2 separate regions of the Homo sapiens genome follow, and region 1 is linked to region 2. Evidence: promoter capture Hi-C in 16 types of primary human blood cells and fetal thymus (Javierre and others, 2016). All regions are on one chromosome and are shown on one strand. The core of a region is centred on a gene start or on the middle of the fragment in contact, and the rest is flanking DNA. Distances in the headings are between cores, read along the strand shown. Region 1 has its middle 8.9 kb from the start of TM4SF18. Region 2 holds the start of COMMD2 (COMM domain containing 2).

Region 1 (3,499 bases), core at 354-2,853, 410 kb before region 2:
TCATAGTAGGGGAGGAAGGAACTGTATTCAGTCATTTATTCTTAAAACGTGTATTGAACATTTACATGATGACACATGATGACTGAGGCAAAGAACACCCATTCCTTCAAAATGCTCAGAGTCTAGTTGAGGAAATAAAAAAGTTAAACAACAAATTCGTAATACAAAATGTTGAATATCCAGTAGATTTAACCATAGGCTTTTTGAAAGACACAGGAACCTTGAATGGAGCTGGAGTTCAAGTGAGATTTCTTGGAAGTCTGGAGGACAAAACTGAGTCTTCAAGGTTAAGATGCAAGTATCTAGGTAAACTGAGCCTCAATCAAAGCTAAATGTTGCCAGGTGTGGTGGCTCATTCCTGTAATCTCAACACTTCAGGAGACTGAGGCAGGAGGATCACTTGAGCCCAGGAGTTAGAGACCAGCCTGAACAACATAGCAAGACCTCGTCTCTGCATAAAATTTTTTAAAAATTAGCCAGGCATGGTGGCACATGTCTGTAGTCCCAACTATTTGGGAGGCTGAGGTGAGAAGATCGCTTGAGCCTGGGAGAATGAGGCTGCAGTGAGCCGTGATTGTGCCACTGTATTTCAACCAGGGTGACAGAGTGAGATCCTGTTACAAAAAAAAAAAAGCTAGATATTCACTGGTAGATAAATGCAGTGTGAAGCTTGATTGGATATTGGTTTGGCAAAACATGGTGAGACACATTTTGGGGATGATTGGAAAAATACGAATGTATGAATGTAGACCGTATTAGACAATATTAGAAGGTTGTTATTAACTTGGATGTAATGATGGTGTTATGAAGGAGTTGCTCTAAATTTTTGGAGATGCATATGTCTTCCTCCCTGAAATGGTTTAGCAAAAGAATAAGGAGAAGGAGGAGGAAGAGGAGGAGAAGAATGGTAGATAGATAAATGAAGCAAATGTGACAAAATATTAACAATTGTTGGACTTAAATCTGAATGTTCATTGTACTAGTTTTTCCACTTTCCTGAAATTTTTGTAAAAAGTAGTTGCAAAAGAATACCCTAGTAGACACTCAGTTACATGCTCAGACTCTAGAATTGTGAGAAATAAATTTTTGTTGTTTGTAAATTAGTGGGTTTAAAATATTTCATTATAGCAACTTGAATGGAGGCAGAGGCTAATTTGGCACAAATATTATTAACTTTAAATGTGTATAACTTTAAAAACTGTAAAGGATTCTCAATAAAAAATTTGTGTTCTAGGATCACACAGAGTTAAGTTTCTCTGTGTCTATATAGGCATGGGCATGCCTGTCTCGAAGCACTTCCTTGGGATATATTTTTCATTGATTTTATATGTTCTTTAAACAATTAAAATGTATAAAAATGATTTCTTAATTCTAATCAATAAAAAATACTAGACATCCATCTTTTATAAATGAGGAACACCTATAATATGGTGGTGGCACTGAACGCGGAGATAATTTAAGAGTAGAATCTTTTCCAGGAATAATTTTTCAGATAAGATATGTTTGCACATGGGCATACAAACCTATCAAATAAGAATTCTACTGTGGAAAGAAAGGACTGGAAATCTATCTCTCCATCCATAGAAAACTGGTGAAATAGATTATGGAATTATTTATGCAATGAATTACTATACGATTGTTAAAAATGAGATAAATATATTTTTGCTGATATGCAATGATGGCTAAGTTTAAAAACAAACAAACAAACATGTGACTGGGCACAGTGGCTGACACCTGTAATCCTAGCACTTTGGGAGACCAAAGCGGGAGGATCACTTGAGTCCAAAAGTTTGAGACCAGCCTGGGCAACATAACCAGACCCTGACTCTACAAAAGATTTAAAAATTAGCTGTCCATGGTGGCACACACCTGTAGTCCCAGCTACTCAGAAGACTGAGGCAAGAGGATGGCTTGAGCCCAGGAGTTCGAGGTTATAATGACAAAAAGAGACTCTATTTTCAAAAAAAAGAAAAAGACTGTATATAAAGTGTTCCCATTACATAACAAAAGCATGTGTATACACACATACACTTGCATAAGCATAAAAGATCTCTGGAAGACTACAACAGGAAGCTGCTGCATTAGTCAGGAGCCATTCAGGGGACAGAAACCACAAGTAATTTGAATACAGAAGGTTTAATATGAAGAATGATTATTTACAGGGAATTACTAAAGAGGAACACTAAGAGAACTCTGAAGAATACCTTTGGGCTGACAAAGAGTACCCGAGGAAGAAATGAGCTTGGAAGGGGTGCCCCTCAAGGTTGGATCCAGACTTCCTGGGAGAGGGTGCAGCCCTCTGGGTGTGCATTTTGCTGGATTGCTCCAGGTCAGAGCTGATCCACAGTTGACAGGTTGGGAGTCATAAGCCAGGGCTGGCAAGGTGGAAATTCCCCCAGTGGGAAACCAGCAGGCTGAGGCTGGCAGGCAAGAAATCAATGGCTGAGGGGTGCTGACAAAATTCATGGGGAAACTGCCCATGGGGAGTGCTGTTGAACTTGTGGGAAACTGGTTGGGCCATGGTGGGGACACACTGGAAAGCTTCCAGGATGCTGCTGCAGGACCATTGAGGAACTGGCCACAGGGAAACCAGCTGGGGCACCCATGAAACTTGTTGGCGTGAGCTCCATCACTGCGTCGCTCACATACCAGCCCAGCACCACAGAAGCAAGAGCAGAAAGTCTACAAGAATCAGGAAGGAAGATAATCCCCTTTTTCTTCCAGAGTCCCTCCAGGTCTTCTACTGGCAAAACTTAACACTGTGTCAGCTGGCAAAGGAAAGATGTTTCAGTATCTCAAGCAGAGAAAGGAAGGGTGCATTTGGCACAGAAAGGCAATAGGTTCATAAATGCCACAGCTGGTAACAGTCGTATCTAGGGAGAAAAACTGGATGAGGAGGCTCAGATGTGAGACAGAAACTTACTTTTCACTGTAAATCTTTGTACTGCTTGATTTGTGGGAAAAACATTGAGAAATTTCCTTACTGCATCAAGTATGAGTTTCATACTTCAGAATAATAATGATGCTGCTGATAGTAAATGACAGCCATTGTTAAATGCTTTTGCTATATTAACTTACCAAATCTTCTTTGTGAGTTACGACTATTAGACCTAATTTTTACGCAGGAAGAAATCGAGGCACAAAGAGGTGAAATAACTTGCCAAAGCTTCGCTAGCAAGCGGCTGAGCTATAACTATGATAATCTGGCTGCAGAATCTGTGCTCTTGACCACTACACTGTACTAATTTACTGTATCTATCAGGGTTTACTGCGACATAAAACACAACAAATGAATGGAGTGATAGTCATTAACACTATTCATCAGATATCTCCAAATCATTGACTCCCCCTAGGGGTGAATTGGGTCATGTGATTAATGAGCTGTATGTTGTCATTTCCAGTCAAGCATTTTAATTGCGAGAGACTCTCCATGGCTGGTTTTTTTGTCTTGCATGGAGAATGGCAATGTTAGAGATGACTCTACAATTGTAGTATGATG
Region 2 (3,847 bases), core at 1-2,500:
AGATGATATGATTTTTATTTTTTAGGTATGTCTTCAAAAAATCAATTATAAACCATTAACAACATTATTAAAACACACAGGTACCTGCCAGGACTATGATGTAGAGTACACCAGACCGTTCTTAAGAATCCAGCCAACACAAAACAGTCCAGAAAATCCCTTACCATGAGCTTTGAGCTCTCAGTGAGGAGATACGTTAATCCTTCCACACCATGCTGGACAGTGTCACTACTCACATTGAGTTTTCCTGAGAAAGAAAAGTAAAAACGAGCAAATAAATTACTACTGTAGTATTTATCTTGTTCATATTTGTATTTAAAAATAAACACTATTCATTATTACATGTTTTCAAACACTGCATGAAAAACAGTAAGTTGGCCAGAGGCTCCTGCTCCTTGTCATTCCACTCCCAGCCAAATGCCTTTGGTATTTCCCACCAAGTAACCTTAACAAAATGCAGAACTGTGGAGACTAGTATCAGGTGCGTAGCCCTTCTCTTGAATACGTAGCTCCTTCAAGTCTGGCAGAAGAGGAACTCGACAGGGATTGACTTAATCCCAGAGACTGCCTCTTACCCAGGGGTAAAACAACACTTTTTTTTTTTTTTTTAGCAAAAGCGGATATCTGAACAACTAATAATGATAACCAAATACTTGCAATTTACAGTTGACCCAGCTATTCCACAGACTTTGGTATATTTATACAAAACACTTTTCAGTATTTCTGAAAGTAAGGTGGTATTATGTACATTTTACCATGAGAAAACTGATTTAATAGAAGCTTTAACAATCTCACAGCTACTTAAGGGACGGGCAGGATTTGCACCCTGACTGAAGAGCTCTGCTGGTTTTATTCTACTACAATCGGAACAAGACCCTAGGACTCGCAATAATCCGTTTCTCTCCCGGGAGACAGGGAATGGCTCGCAACCGCCCTAGAAGCCTGCGGAGCCTTCCCCTTTCCCTTCTTACTGGCGGCGCCTTCGTAGATTTTTGGGTTTGCGCCGCGTCTCAGGAATTCCACAGCAATCCGCCCAAACTCGGCGACCACTGCAATGAAAGTCAGAAGGCTGTTGAGTGCCAGGCGCTGCCTTTGACCTCCTCCCCAGCCCACAGAACACCGCCCCCACGCCCGCTGACCCGCGCTGTCCACTTGAGGCAGGAAGGCCAGGTGTTCCTTATGCTCCTCGGACAATTCCAGCAGCATCTTCACTGTCCTACGATTTCACCCGGCAGCGCCGACCCCGCCTTCGCCACTTCCGGCGCCCGTGTCCCGGCGCCTAGAGGCTCCGGCGTCGCAGCGTCCGGAGCTTTGGGTTCCGGCCTACGAACTAACGCGTTACACTCGGACGTTCCCTGCAGCGCAGGCTGAGGTCAGAACATTGAAATCATCCCGCAAAGATGCAGTGAGCGCCTGCTGGGTGCAAGGTGCTAGGCTCTATGGGAGATGAAAAGGTGTTTCAAATCCGACACGCCCCCTCGTGGAGCATACATTAATAATATCAATAGTTCACATTTGTTAAGCACTAACCGTGTCAGGAAGTGTTCTTACATTTATTAAATACATTTGGAGTTCAGAAGAACCCTATGAGGTAGGTTCCATTATAATTTCCATTAGAGATAAGGAAACTGATAGACAAGTCCAGCAACTGACACTTTTATAAAGCTAATAGTTTCCAGAGCTTCTATGTTATCTTAAATGTATCTCAGTTAATATCCTCAACAAACATGGCTTTGTTTTTACAGATAAGACACAAAGCTCCAGAGATTATGTGACAAAGCCTGTGACAGAGTTAGATGGAGAGGGTTGGATCCCTCACTTACCTGCTGCAAAGCCCATCCTTCTACATAACAGCCTGAAAGCTGAAAGCTTCTGACAAGTTTTATGAGTGATTATAAATTAGGATAAAGATAATGATGACAATGACCGATGCTTACAGGATTCAGAGCAATGTTTTTGTTTGTTTGTTTTGTTTTGTTTTGTTTTTTACATGGAGTCTCGCTCTGTCGCCCGGCTCACTGCAACCTCTGCCTCCCGGGTTCAAGCGATTCTCCTGCCTCAGCCTCCCGAGTAGCTGGTATTACAAGCGCCCACCACCATGCCTGGCTAATGTTTGTATTTTTAGTAGAGACGGGTTTTCACCATGTTGGCCAGGCTGGTCTTGAACTCCTGACCTCAAGTCATCCAGCCAACTTGGCCTCCCAAAGTGCTGGGATTACAAGCATGAACCACCACACCTGGCCCAGAGCAATGCCTTTTAAAAAGTATTTAGCGCCTGTGATAATTTAGTTCCTTTTCCAACTCTCTTCTCACCTGCTGTGGTTCAAATATCAGAGATGATAAAGTTGCTAATTGATAGGAATATGATTCTTCAAATCTTAACCCCTTGAAAATGGAGGGTGTGGAGGAAGAGAGGGGAAGGGAAGAAGACTCTTCATATCTGTCTTTTCTATCTAAGGCTTGAGACAACTCTATATTCTGAGTCTCCCAGGCAGACTAAAAATTGGAAGAGTTTTTCAATTCACTTCTCTGTGTCTACTTTGTCCTTCACATCTGACTGAAATTGTTTCTTCCACTGGGACACAGAAAGACAGGTCCTTGAACTTATTAGTTAGTTCTTGAAGTAGCATTTGCAGAGAGAACACAACTTTTACTTAGACTGTGAATTGCAGATTAGCAAAAATTGCATCATTTCCTGAAGTTGCCTTTATTCACACATTATTGAGAAAACATCCATTATTAAAGAATAATTTTCAGAAAAGGTAAAATCATGATTCTTCTACAAGTGTACAATGAACACATGTCAAAAAATGTATTGAACTAGTTAATTAATGAGAGAATTACAGCATTCTGTAATTAATGAGAGATTACAGTAAAAACCAGTTTCAACTGATTCAAAAGAGGTATTCAAGAACTGTACATATATAGGGAGTAGGAATGCTGAAATGAATTTGCAAATAGACACAATATTATGCCAATATGAAATGGCCTTTCTTGTCTGTAATCTCAGGGAATGAAGTGAGGACAGGCGAGGTGAAGGTGAGACTAGGGAGTAGCACAATAGGCTGTCTAAAAAAGGTGGTCAAGGAACCAAGTTAGGCCAGGTATGGTGGCTGATGCCTGTAAACCCAGCACTTTGGAAGGCCAAGGCGGGAGGATCACTTGAGGCCAGAAATTCAAGTCTAGCCTGACCAACATGGTAAAACCCCATCTCTACTAAAAATACAAAAATTAGCAAAGCTTGGTGGCATGTACCTGTGGTCCCAGCTACTTGGTAGCCCAAGGCATGAAAATTGCTTGAACCTGCGAGGCAGAGGTTGCAGTGAGCAAGATTTGAGTCACTGCACTCCAGCCTGGGTGACAGAGTCAGACACTGTCAAAAAAAAAAAAAAGAAAGAAACCAAGTTATATCCAAGAAAAACCAGCCTGGGAGTTAAAACACCCCAGGATAATTTATAGAGTGACTTCTGTTGCCATAAGTGATATAATTGTTTAGAAAAAATTACCTGAGTGAAAATTCAAAACTCTAGATTCCAGATCTGGCTCTGACACTACCTGTATGACTTCTAATAAGTTGTTTTTATGTTATAACCATAGCCTCTTCGTCTGTAAAACTGGCATTTTAATACTGCCCTTCTGTGCCATGCAGGGCTGTTATGATGCTCAGATGAACTAATAAATTCACATTAAAAATTGATTTTGATGATCAAATGAAACAATAAATTAGAATTAAGCAAACAGCAGCATTTACATTTTATAGGAGCAGATTTTATGCTCCTATAAATTCACAAATAATCATCTTAAAAGCCATTCATTTAATTTAACAAACTTTATTAAGCAATTCCTT

Evidence for each region. The method cuts DNA at HindIII sites, captures the fragments that hold promoters and counts their contacts. A CHiCAGO score of 5 or more calls a contact.
Region 1: a contact is called between a fragment that was not itself captured here and the fragment with the promoter of COMMD2 in region 2, in 1 of 17 cell types (M2 macrophages). The highest score is 6.3, in M2 macrophages.

The regions. Positions count from the first base shown.
Region 1 is chr3:149,340,787-149,344,285 of GRCh38, forward strand. No RefSeq gene overlaps it. Among named protein-coding and RNA genes, the nearest start is that of TM4SF18, 8.9 kb to the left of the region's middle. The HindIII fragment of the contact is 1,872 bases long and covers 668-2,539 here.
Region 2 is chr3:149,751,239-149,755,085 of GRCh38, forward strand. COMMD2 (COMM domain containing 2) reads right to left here and starts at 1,251. Exons shown (of 5, transcript NM_016094.4): 1 at 1,140-1,251; 2 at 972-1,049; 3 at 165-247. The coding sequence starts at 1,206. RefSeq lists a silencer at 1,407-1,476. The HindIII fragment of the contact is 1,089 bases long and covers 779-1,867 here.